Regions from separate parts of the Homo sapiens genome. Here region 2 is linked to region 1. The links are contacts of gene promoters, found by promoter capture Hi-C in human tissues and cell types (Jung and others, 2019). All regions are on one chromosome and are shown on one strand. The core of a region is centred on a gene start or on the middle of the fragment in contact, and the rest is flanking DNA. Distances in the headings are between cores, read along the strand shown. Region 1 holds the start of IL26 (interleukin 26). Region 2 overlaps IFNG-AS1 (IFNG regulatory antisense RNA 1).

What was found. The method cuts DNA at HindIII sites, captures the fragments that hold promoters and counts their contacts. A contact is called where the count stands out against the background at its distance.
Region 2: a fragment that was not itself captured here is called in contact with the fragment with the promoter of IL26 in region 1 in 1 of the 25 tissues and cell types used here (hippocampus).

Annotation. Positions count from the first base shown.
Region 1 is chr12:68,224,071-68,231,070 of GRCh38, reverse strand. IL26 (interleukin 26) reads left to right here and starts at 5,261. Exons shown (of 5, transcript NM_018402.2): 1 at 5,261-5,485; 2 at 5,571-5,627; 3 at 5,788-5,922. The coding sequence starts at 5,315. The HindIII fragment of the contact is 9,012 bases long and covers 1-7,000 here.
Region 2 is chr12:67,993,062-67,999,397 of GRCh38, reverse strand. It overlaps IFNG-AS1 (IFNG regulatory antisense RNA 1), which reads right to left. Exons shown (of 4, transcript NR_104125.3): 2 at 3,325-3,457. Among named protein-coding and RNA genes, the nearest start is that of IFNG-AS1, 6.8 kb to the right of the region's middle. The HindIII fragment of the contact is 7,498 bases long and covers 1-6,073 here.

The DNA.
Region 1 (7,000 bases), core at 4,012-6,511:
TTACCTGTCTCTGTGTACTCATTTATTCTGGATATTTCATATAAGTGGAATCACACAATATGTGACCTGTTGAGGCTAGTGTTCTTCACTTAGTATAGTGTTTTCAGGATTATCCATGTTATAGCCTGTATCAGTACTTCATTTAAAAAATGTTTGAATAATCTTCATATATATATTATATATACCACAACTGGTTTATCCATCCATTCATTAATGGACGTTTGAGTCTTATTTTCTTTTTTAAAGAATATAAGTCAAATGATAGAACTCCTCTACTCAAAATTCCCATATAACATGAGTAGAAGCTAAAGTCCTATCAACAGCCTAAAAGGCTCTGCATGATCTTCATCCGTTTCTTCCCTGGCCTGACATCCTCCCCGTCCTCCTCCGTTGCTCTAGAACAATCCACACAACCTTTCTAGCTACAGTGAACCTGCTAAGCATGCTGTTTCTCTTAGCCTATTGCAGTGACAGTTGCTTTTGGCTGAAACAGGTAACTCCATTGCTCACTCCCTTACTCCATTCGTGATGTTACTTAAATGTTCCCTTTGCATTGAGGCCTTGTATGACCATCTATTTACAATCATCTCCTATCTCAGCACCTCCACCTCTCTTACTCTAGTCTATCTTTCTCAAAACATGTAGTATTTTCCAACAGTCTATATCGTACTTAAGGGATATAACTTACATCTATTATGTTTATTTATTGTCTGTCTGTTCCCCCACCCCACTAGAACATTTTATGAAATTAAGAATTTTGTGTGTTTTGTTTATTAATGCATCTGTGGCCCTAGTGCAGCCTGGAAGGTAATGAATACTCAATAAGTATTTGATGAATGGCTGTGTTAATGATGACATGTGCAAACCTGCAGAGTACAAGTCAGCTAGCCAAGGGCCAGGACACACAGGTGGAGGCTCTCAGGGAATGTTCATGTGCTCCTCCCCATCATACCCTTCTGCTTATCCAGCTTCCACGTCTCCTTTCCTTCCTCTCCAGTCCATTTACAACACTCCTCATTCCTTCTCTAACCTGTTCTCATCACGATGGTAAACAGGTTTACCATTCTGTTGGTTACCAGGCTTACCATTGTCCAATGTAGTGGGGCCTATCTTTTCTGGAGAGGCAAAACCACAGTATCTTTGCATCAAACATATTTATCTATCTATCACTGTTTCTTATCTACATCCTCTGGCTCTATTCTGGAAAAAATATATTGAATTTCAGTTTTTATAGTATGATTATATAAACATAGATCCATGTACTTCTTATGCACAGCTGCATTGATTTTAGGATTTAGGATCCTAAGAAATTATGCCAATCACTGAGATCATTAAATAACATATTTCAACCAATGTAAGATGTTGTACACTGGAAATTGCACCACTACTTTGTTTACCACTAATAAAGGAAAAAGTGCTACTAATTAAACTATGATGCATTTCTTTCTTAAGATTTAGCACTTGATTTTTGCTTTTCAAATAAATATGTAATTTTGGTCATTTCTCCAAAAACAAATATTTACTTTTCTAATATCAAATTTGTGCCCCACTGCTGTTCTGTGTCTTTCTATGAACATATTAACATTTGTTTTAATGCGGAATCATAATCTTTCTGAAGACCTTTTAAGTAGCAATTAAACACCTGTAGTAACAACCATGCACACAGTTCAAGTGAAGTGATGTCATCATTAGTGGTTGTGACCAAGTTCAGGACTGCGCAGGTGGGGATAACTGTGGATTACAATGCACACTGTCATTTAAGAGACATTAAAATGTAAAAAAAAAAAAAAAAAAGGTGTGTTTCAGTGTCAACCAAATAGGTTAGTAACAACAATTAGTTGTTGTTTTTTCCCCATAGGAGGAAAGCAGATAAAAAGCGGTGTCACTGAAGACTCGAAGTGAGCTAAGATTCTGCACAGGAGTTGGTGAGCTGAGTTTGCTCATGGGCTACACTGGGCCATCAGAGAGGGCAGCTGGCATTCTTTTGGGTGGGAGAGGACTTAAACTTTAAGGAAAATGACCGCCATGCTGGCTTTTGGAAATTGGGGCAGTCAATTATATTTTTGGCAGATCAATTGTTTGAATATTCTCCTGTACATTACACAAGAGTGGCCTCCCTAAAATATCCTCTTAATGGTCCAAGTTCACCCTCTGGATGTGTGTGGGATTAACTCAATTCCTTATGCCTATGTATTTTTTTGGACATATTGTCAGATTTTTGCATTTCCTTCACTTTTCTCACTTTCTTCAACCATTTCTGAAGGCTCCTGAAGGCTCATGATAAACTTTAACATTATTCAGAGTATTACACATGCATTTCTTATTTATTATTTCATAAATAATAAATCAGTAGCTACCACTTCCAGAGTGCCTCTACAGCTGTCATTGTGCTAGACATTCTATTTAGATTACGGTATTTTTGCTCACGACAACCCTCTGTAGTTAGGTGTGATTATTGTTCCATTTTAATGATGACAAAAACGGAAGCCCAGAGAGGACTAATAACTTCCCCAAGGCCATACAGAATCAGAGTGAATCAGAGTTTTGAAACCCAATCTCTTTGTAATTAATACCAACTTTTATACTTTCTGTGTAAGTTACTTATGAAAGTGGTTGGGCGCGGTGGCTCATGCCTGTAATCCCGGCACTTTGGGAGGCCAAGGCGGGTGGATCACGAGGTCAGGAGATCGAGACCATCCTGGCCAACACGGTGAAACCCCATCTCTATTAAAATGCAAAAAATTAGCTGGGCATCAGGGTGCGTGCCTGTAGTCCCAGCTACTCTGGAGGCTGAGGCAGGAGAATCACTTGAACCTGGGAGGCAGATACTGCAGTGAGCTGAGATGGTGCCACTGCACTCCAGCCTGGTGACAGAGCGAGACTCCGTGTCAAAAAAAAAAAAAAAAAAAGATACTCATGAAAGCGATATAATAAATATACATTCAGTGAAGCAGAGAATTATCTTTTCAGTTGGTGCTCCTACAGTATTATGCATTTATTCTAATGGCTCTTCTGTTATTTAGGACACTTTGGGGGCTCCTCTTTGGAACTGTGTTCAGGGCCCATGTTTTGAACGTCCTTTTTAGTGGCCACTATTTACTCTTTGAGATCAGATCTTCCTGCTTATCAAAGGACCCTAATGAGGCAGGTTTGCTGACTAAGATGGAGGATGACTGTGATCCAGTGGGTGATATGGTCATTCATACAGAAATGGCCACAGTTTTCTTGAGTTGGCTGCAAACCAAAGCAGAGGCATTCTAGGACTATATATGGATTTTCCTTGTGTGATGATGATTTGAGGGATGTAAGGTATTTATGGAAATGTAACTACCAGAAGTTAAAAAATAGCCAGAACCCACATCAACTTAATTTATCAATATTAGCCACTTGAGTTATCAATATTAGCCACAAGTTTTGTTGGTACACACCAGGGATCTGAAATTGGCTGCTCACGGCAGTATATGGCTCTGGGAGGTGTTTTGTGTCATCCTTTTATTGCACTCTGTGTTTATAGCACAGTGTGTTAACAGGCTATGTGATTAGACAGACTTTAAGACTGGTGACCATATAAGCATATTAGCCGCAATTATCTGGTATCTACCCACCCAGTGTGTTTGTATTAATCCTCGCCCTCTAAGGGCATTTGAGCTTTTGATCCCTCCAAGTTCACACTGTTTCTTTCCAAAGGAACTTATAATACTAGGCATTCCTCTGCTCAAATAAATAAATAAATAAATAAATAAATCCCTTTGTGTATTTCATGTCCTAGTTCAAACATCCTTTCAGCCACTCCCAACTGAAACGACTTCTTTCTTTTTCTGAATTTCATAAAATTTCAGTGAACTTCACTCAGCACTCCCAGTCAGCTGACTTCTGCTATAGTTTTTTTGTGAATAGTTCTCATCTCAATTGATAGGGTGTGTCGTTACCAGTGATCTTGCTCCTGGGGAAATAAGGCTTGGATTCTTCCAAGAGATCCACTCATGTTTTGAAACAGCAGACATCAGTCCAAGCATTTTTCTTATTTTCCCTTTTTCTTCTTGGTTGTTTTTTTTTTGTTTTTTTTTTGTTTTTTTTTTGTTTTTTTGACAGCCCTGCTTGCTTTCATTTGGAATTTAGTCTTGGGTTCTGATGCTTGTTATTGACTGACTAGTTTTGATGACTCTCTTAACTCACAACCAGATTTCTAGTGTTGACTTATCCCTGATACACATTAACTCTATTCATTCTAGGCTTTAGTGACCTATCTCTGCTTCTCAGAATATGACTCTGGGCTGCCCTCTTCTTATATTGGGGCTGCTACCCAGAATGAGCCATATTTACTGTCTAGGAAGAACTGGGACAGAAATGAGGATGGGAGTTTATGGAGAATCCTCCTTGGTGGCTCCCTCATACCTAGCACTGGTTTTTGTGTAGGCAAGTCTTTAATAAAAATGTGTGAATGGAAGAAATTTAAAAAATAAAGCAGTTATGGTAGCACGTCATGATGTGACAAAAGTATTTACTCAATTAATAATGGATGCACTTCTTTAGATGAGGTGCCATGGTAGATGCTGTATTCAAAGGTGAAAATATACGGTCTCTTTCTTCAAGGAATTTGCACTCTCCTGGAAGTTGGGAGTTATAAGGAAAGTCTGAGTGGTAAATTTGGACAGAGATGACAGAGAACTTATTACATTGTGGACCTTAGTCCCAGGTCCAGTTCCAAACATATCTTGAATATGTTAAGGGGAGTTACTGTTTCTGCACTGGAAATGTTCTCGCTGCTATCTGCAGAATAATGGCCTCTGGGGGAAGCTGGGTGAAGGATGTGGCAAGCAATAAACACAAGACCCATTTGAATCGTGAGCAGATTTCCTGGGGCTGCCCATTTCTACCCCCTTGTTAAATTTTTTCTGGGATTCTGGTTAGAAAAGGAGATTTTTCACATGGGGTTTAAAAAATTATGACACAGCCCCCTGGAAATCATCCTGTTTTTATTGGCATGCCTTTTAAAATAATGCAAGCTGCTGTGATAGGCAACTGAAATTCTGAATTCTTTTGGAAATGAGAACGCAATCTTACCAGTAAGGCTGAGCTTTTAAATAATGTCAGTTGATGGTGTGATCAGCGTTTTTTGACTATGAAGCAAGCTCTTAAAAAAATAGAACAACCAAAGTGATCTTCCTCTATATAAACTGTAAATTATCTTTCACAGCACCTCATTGGACTGGTGGCTTTGAGGGCTACATTAAGTAGGTTATCCTCTCATCTAACCGGCATTAGTATCTCTTGGGCTGCTGTGAGTGACACACGCTGAGTGGGGTGAAGGGAAATGCTGGTGAATTTCATTTTGAGGTGTGGGTTGCTGTTAGTCACTCTGTCTCTTGCCATTGCCAAGCACAAGCAATCTTCCTTCACCAAAAGTTGTTACCCAAGGGGAACATTGTCCCAAGCTGTTGACGCTCTCTATATCAAAGCAGCATGGCTCAAAGCAACGATTCCAGTAAGTATTAGGCTCTGCTTAAAATCATGACCTCAAGGACATTTACAATCTTGGATACAACTTATTTCTCTTTGTATTATTGTAGGAAGACCGCATAAAAAATATACGATTATTAAAAAAGAAAACAAAAAAGCAGTTTATGGTAAGTCAGAAAGTCTTCTTCTTTTTTACATTTCCACTTATTTGATGTTTATTTCCCCCTGCATTTAAATTTTTTTCAGAGAGTAATTAAGTAATGATCGGGGGACATTAAAAAACGATTCATAATTTACCATATGCAATTTCTTGTATCTTATTTTTAGAAAAACTGTCAATTTCAAGAACAGCTTCTGTCCTTCTTCATGGAAGACGTTTTTGGTCAACTGCAATTGCAAGGCTGCAAGAAAATACGCTTTGTGGAGGACTTTCATAGCCTTAGGCAGAAATTGAGCCACTGTGTAAGTATACACAACAAATACTGTGCATTTGATCCTAGAAACCTGTTTAGAAGTCAGCATGTAAGAATCTGTCTCACACCAAAGGGTGAGTAAAACGAGCTTTGTAATTGTTGGCTTGTAGTCCAAATGGAGAGGTCATCACCAGGGAAATAGCATTAAATAACTGTACATTACTCAGAATGCTGCTATTTATTATTTCTTAAAGAATGGCTCATAAAACACACTGAAGAGAGCTAAAGTAACATGACATGGTTTTCAAATAAATACTTTAAAATCATTCTCTCATTATGTGATTCCCAAGTAATCCATTCATCCATTTAATATTTCTTGAGTACCAACTTTGTGCCAAACACTATTCTAAGTCTCTCTTTCTCTCCCTTCCTCCCTCTCTCCCTCTCTCCCTTCTTCCCTCCCTCCCTCCCTTCCTTCCCTCTCCCTCCCTCCCTCTCCCCTTTCTCTTCCTCCACCCTCCTTCCCTCCCTCTCTCTTTCTTTCTTTTCCTTCCTTCCTTCTTTCTTTACTTCCTTTTCTTTCTTTCTCTCTCTCTTTCCTTCCTTCCTTCTTTCCCATAACAATAATAACTAACTGATGCCCTTTTTCTTATTTACTTATGTTTTTAAAAAAATATTTGTGCCCCTTTTAAGGCATAATCTCAGTAAAAAACTTAAAAAGGGATAGACATGCCTTCTTTGGTACCTAAATTATTTGATGCCTCAGTATGGTCACTGTCATAGCAAGCAGTGGAGAATTAATTAAGAAGGTAAAAGTGATCACATTTCTATGAAAAATTCCACAGCAATAAAGACCAGTGCAGAAAACAAAACAAAACAAAACAAAACAAAACAAAACAAAACAAAACAAAAACACTGAGCCAGAATCTGTGCAATGTTAGTCGAGTTGCCTCTGTGGGGAATATTGAAGCTTTTCTGTGCCCTTGGTTGGGGTCCAAGTATGCTTTCTCCAGCCTCCTGCAGTTGTAGCTTGCAGATGGTACAAAGGTTGGGTTGGGAGCCTTATTGCAATCCTTGGGAAGCCAGTTGGAAAGGAGCTCTTCATCCTGGGCATCATGGTCACTGAG
Region 2 (6,336 bases), core at 1,075-3,574, 230 kb after region 1:
AGCTCAGTCATTTCTCAAGGATCCTTGGTTTCTTTTATTAAATAATGTCATCTAGAAAGCAAGATCTAGGTGCTCTTTGTGTTCATTGCTACTGGTGTCATTACTTTTAGGCCCTCTCATCAGACAAAGCTAGATAAAAATCTGTTTATAATAAACATGTGTACATACACATAATCTAAGTCTCTATCTCTGTATCATCTATTATCTATCTATCATTTATCTATCACCACGAGTTCATACATTTGATTCCTATTTATATCTATCTATCTATCTTATCTATTATCTATTATCTATCATCTATCTATCACCATCAGTTCATACCAATACATTTGATTTCAGTCCAGTATTACAGTGTTAATTCTAGCCTTCCTCCTTTCCTTACTAGTAACTCATTTCTCTAAAAGTAAGAAATCTCCCTCTTGTTATCCAAATATTATTTACTTATTTGCACAATCCTAAAATAAACATTAACTGGGTTTATAATTACTAACCAATGCCTCTTTGGGGCTGGGGAGCTTGCAAACTAATGTAAAATGTTTGTGTACATTCCTGTTGGTCTTTGGTCTTAGAGTATATAATATGTACATTGTATTAATAATACATGTATATAATAATACATTGGATTTCAAAGTTGTCTTCAGTTCATTCTTTTCTTCCTCATCCCCTTCAGTGTGGTTTGTAATTGAGTTAGGCTCATTTGTTATTGTTTGTATTGAATTTTGGGTTCTCCCTTCACCCTGCTTGATTTTAGTCATTTATTTATATTTTTGGTAATGAAACATTACCATGGTTTCTAAAAGTCAGAACTGTAGAAAGAGTTATACTCAGAGAAGTGTTCCTTTCCCACCCCCATCATCCCCTGCACCCCAACTCCTTCCTGTTATCCCTGTATATAAGCAATCTTAGTTCCTGGGTTAACCTTTTTGTGGTTTTCTTTCTTTTTCTTTTTCTTTTTTTTTTGGTCTCTCTTTCATAGAAGTTGACACATAATAGATATTCTTTTGCACTTTGTCTTTTTTCTTTTTCACTTAAGAAAAACCTATTTGGATTGTGTTCTGAAAAACAATCCAAATAGGTTCACAGGAATCCTTTTCTATTTTATTTTCTCTTAGAGCCTGTAGAGGTACACAATTTGTTTAACTACTCTCTTGTGTTCAGATATTTACATTGTTTCCAATATTTTGCAATAACAACAATGTCACAATTAATAACCCTGTGCAAATATATTTTTGCCTTATCGGAGGTGTATCTTCTGGGTAAATTCCTAGAAGTGGAATTGCTGAATTAAAAAATAAGTGTATGTGTAGTTTCTTAGGCATTACCAAATTTCCCTCTATAAAGCTTGTACCACTTGACATTGTCACCAGCAATGTGTGAGGGTATCTCTTTCCCTACAGATGACTGCCATATTTTTAATTTTTTTGCCAATCTGATAAGTGAAAAATAATATTCCTATAAAGTTTTAATTTGTATTTCACTAGTTATGAATGATATTAAACATTTTTTGCTATCTTACAAGGTTTTTTATATATCTTTTTGTGAATTATCTACTCTTGTTTCTTTATCTAGTTCAATATTTTTTTAAAATCCCTTCTCTTTCAATTTTAGGAGTTTTTAATATATTAGCAGAATATATACTTTATTATAGAAAGATTAATGTTGCAAGCATTTTTTTAAAGTTTGTTTGTTGTTTGACTTTGTTTATGGTGTTTTTGCCATGCATTAAAATTTTTATTTTTATGTGGCCACTCGTCAATCTTTTTTTTTTAATTGCCTCTGGATTTTGAGTCATGGTTAGAAAATCTTTCCCTATACCAACGTTAAATAGAAATTCACCCATGTTTTCTTCTGCTATTTAAAAAAAAATTTTTTTTTACATTTATATTATATCTCTTTTTCATTGGGTCTTTATGCTTGTATATGGTGTGAGATATGGATCTAAACTTATTTCATTCCCAATACCTATCCAGTTGTCCCAGAACCATCTATTAAAATTTTCTTGCCCCAGCAATTTTGTGATGTCACTTATCATATACTAAATTTCCATATGTACTTGAGTCAATTTCTGGGCTTTCTAATTTATTCTATCAGTTCGTTTGCCTAGTCATGCACCTGCATCCTACACTCTTAATTATGAAGACTTTATAGTATGTTTTAATGTGTGATAGGGCTAGTTCTTCCTTCTAGTTTTTCTTTTTAAGTGTTTTCTTGGCTCTTCTTCAGTGTTTTATGTCTTTCAGAAATGCTTTCCTCATACAGTTTTTGCACATTTCCTTTTAAGTTTATTTAAGTGTTTCATGTTCTTTGTTGTTATTATAAATGAGGGTTTTTCTGTTATTACATCTCCTAAATAATCATTGTTTATGTATATAAAATAGTAAGTTATCTATGTAATGTTTTTATCCTGCTATTTTATATTATAATAACTTATCTTATTGTTTTAGTTAATGCCTTTTCTTAACTTGAACCAGAAATACATTTTTATTGTGTTAAGCCTCTGAGATTTGATTTATTTCTTATAGTAGTTAGCTGAGTCTGACAAATAAAAGATAGAAATAACTTTATTACCATCATAAAGTAAAGATATTAAGAGCAGAAATATTGACAAGTTTGCCTAAGGTCATAGAATGAGCAATGGACAACACTGGTTTTTAAATCAATATCCTATGTTATTAACCACTGCATATTACCCTCTCCTCAAGGTGTGAGTTCCTGAGCTTTTCTGCTAGCTTCCATTTGAAAGAGAGAAGCCAAGTTCATTCTCCATCCTTCTTTGTCTACTTGCAGTTCTGTTACTCATTGTAGGGAAATGAGTGGGAGCAGAAGGCAGACTGCTAGATGAATAATAGCATGGAGGGACACACAGCTACATAGATTTAAGAGGGTGTGAACTCATTGTACTTTATAGGTGTAGAAAACTATACAAGATTTTGTAGTTATAAAAATAACAAAATCTCAGCTCTGATTCACCATTCAATTTGTTCTCACTATACAACAAGTATGATCTTTTAAGAATGAAACTAGTTAGATGGCATTCTCTTTGTTTAAATCTTTCAATGGATTCACATTTGTATCAGAATAAAGACAAAACTCATTCACATGGCCTCTGCTTTACTATCCAGGCTCAGCTCCATGCCTTGTACTAATTGCTATCATACGGTATTTTGATCACTTACTTACTGCCCTGTCTTGTAAACTCTTCAGGACAGAGACTTTTTAAATTTTGGATTCCAGATTCTGGTACCATGCCTAACACATAGTAGGCACTAAATATATGTTCGTTGAGTGAGTGAAGGAGTTAATGAATAAATATTGTTTTCCTACCTTTTTTGATTTCATGGAATATGCTTATCTCTTCTTTAGAATATTTTCTTCTTCCCTGCATGAGGAATGAGCTTTCTGTATCCTTAAGATTGCCACCATCATCAGCTGTGAGCTGTCATGAACTTTTCAAACTCTGAAGAGAAATGTCAAATGAGTGATCTGAGATTCTTGTTTTAAAGAAAATAATCAGCTGATATATTTCTTCCTACCACTTATATTTTCTACTCTTTATGGAAATGATTTTGCATTTGTTGGGATAAATAATCCTCAGTCTTTTGTAAAAGGCAAACTGAAAGTTTTATTTGAATATCTCACCCTGCCATTTCTTTTCTTTTCTTTTTTTTTTTTTTTGGAGACCGAGTCTCACTCTGTCACCCAGGCTGGAGTGCAGTGGCGCAATCTTGGCTCACTGCAACCTCTGCCTCCCAGGTTCAAGTGATTCTCCTGACTCAGCCTTCCGAATAGCTGGGAATACAGGCACATGACACCATGCCTGGCTAATTTTTTGTATTTTTAGGAGAGACAGGGTTTCACCATGTTATTCAGGATGGTCTCGATCTCCTGACCTCGTAATCTGCCCGCCTCGGCCTCCCAAAGTTCTAAGATTACAGGCGTGAGCCACAGTGCGCGGCCCTTTTTTTTTTTTTTTTTTTTGAAATGGAGTCTCACTCTGTCACCAGGCTGGAGTGCAGTGGCACAATCTCAGCTCACTGCAGCCTCCGCTTCCTGGGTTCAAGCGATTCTCCTGCCTCAGCCTCCTGAGTAGCTGGGACTATAGGCACGCGCCACCATGCCCAGCTAGTTTTTGTATTTTTTGTAGAGACAGGGTTTCACCATGTTGGCCAGGATGGTCTCGATCTCTTGACCTCATGATCTCCCACCTTGGCCTCCCAAAGTGCTGGGATTACAGACGTGAGCCACCACTCTCAGCCCACCCTGCCATTTCTAAAAGGCACTTTCTCTCAAAAGCCTGGTCCAACCCTGGCAATAAAGATTTTCTAAGTATCACATGTAGTCTCTAAACTAGTTTTCTTGACATTTGATAGTAATAAAAGTAATTGTTTATTGAGCTTCATCTGTGTATTAAGACACTCTTGTAAGCATATTATATACAATTTATGAAACATATTAGTTTCACCACTTTCTGGATGAGGAAACTGAGGCATAAAGAGGTTAGGTAACTTGCCTAAGTTTCTTTAAACACAGCCAATAATAAAATGAACTGAGATTGGAATTCAGGGAAGCCAATTCCAGGGTCCATACTTTAAATCTGCGGTGGATCACTTTCATCACTTATGATGCTTCATCTTACTGCACCTCCTAGAACATGTAATGTTGTTTGTGTGCTTCACGTACATCTATTTCATCATCCAGATAAGATCCCTAGATGTTCTTTTTGGAGGAGTGTCTTATTTCTTCAGCCTTACAATGTTTAGAATAGCGGCAGACATGTTGTGTGTCCATTTCATACACAATTGCTAAATTGCTTTGAAAGCTGTATTTAAATTCTCCCCCTAGTTTTAGGTAATTGTATATAGGGGTTTTACCAAGTTAGGATAAAGCAGCATATTTAAAAAATCTCCGTATTTGTTTACTCAAGAAATAAGTGTAGGATTGTGATTATAATAGATGTAATAGGAACTCAGGAGGGGTAGGAGATCCCCACAACATCATCCACCTACTGTCCTTCCTTTCTGTACCTCCATATGGATGTAACGATGCGTTGACGGATATGAATGAAACTGGGCATTCTGTGACTTATTGATTTGAACCAACACTGGTTAATAAAGCATTCATTTAACTCATTCTCTGTTATAGCTCCCTCTACTGAGGGCCATGGCTCTTCTCTGAAGGAGGGGCAGGAAGCTTGTTGTCACTGTATGAAGGTGCAACTGAGTTCTTTAGCCAAAGGACAACCCCAATTCAACCTGTGTACAACAACTCTCCTGTGATGATGACTGCCTTCCTCTACTGACATGCCTCCCAATGCTTGGAAGGTTAAATTATTCCCCATGCCACAATGAGTGGGGTTTTGGGGGGAACATGATGGTACTAACCATCAACCTTAAGAAAATAATAACTTGTTATTACTGAGACCCTCTGCCCTTTATGCAAATAAACCACAGCAGGCTACCATTTAGACATACTTGTACATGTCTAAATTTACTAAACGTATGTTTAAGAAATATATGTGGAAAGTTACAATTCTGTTATTTTCCCAAACCTATGTTCAACTCAGAAAGAGTTTGCAAAAAGAAAAATAAAAGGAAAGTCAAAAGAAAAGTAACTGAATATATTAAATTTCTTTATCAAGCCTCCATACTATAAGACTATGTCTTCTTAGAACTTTGTTACATTATCTTTTTTATTAATAAGTGCCTTTTGTTCTAATCATTTTAGGTCATAAAAATAATATATGTTCATGGTAGAACTATTGGAAAATCAGAAATATATTTTTAAGTGTTTAATAATTCATGATCTCTTCACTGGAAGATATTCATTGTTAGCATTTTGGTATATTTCTTTTATCTAGATAGATTGATGAGAAATAGATTGAAAGATAGAGATGGAACTGTTTTTGATATGCACATATACATATAGTTTATTTCCACTGCCTGAGCTTTATCTCATGAACATTTTTCAGATCACTTAAGATTCCTCAATGACCTTTTATAAATGGTTTAAGATGTGTATTTTATAACTATATAGTGTTCTATTTAATGATCTGACAGAGTTAGATATTTTGATGCTTTCACTGAGATGAATGCCAGATTGCTCTTCTAAATCCTGTCCGAGTGAAAGAAGAAAGTACATCATGAACTGCGTAAAAAACAGAGGGTGATTTTCTAAAGAAACAGAGGAACTTTCATCTGCCCAATGAAATTCAGAAATTAAAAAATAAAGAAAAAGAAATTCTTTTCTGTAAAAAGCCCCAGAACCTTGATGCTTATCAGAGATTTATCAAAGTGATTCGAGCCTAATGGGGACCTGTTTGTGTCTGAAATCCCTCAG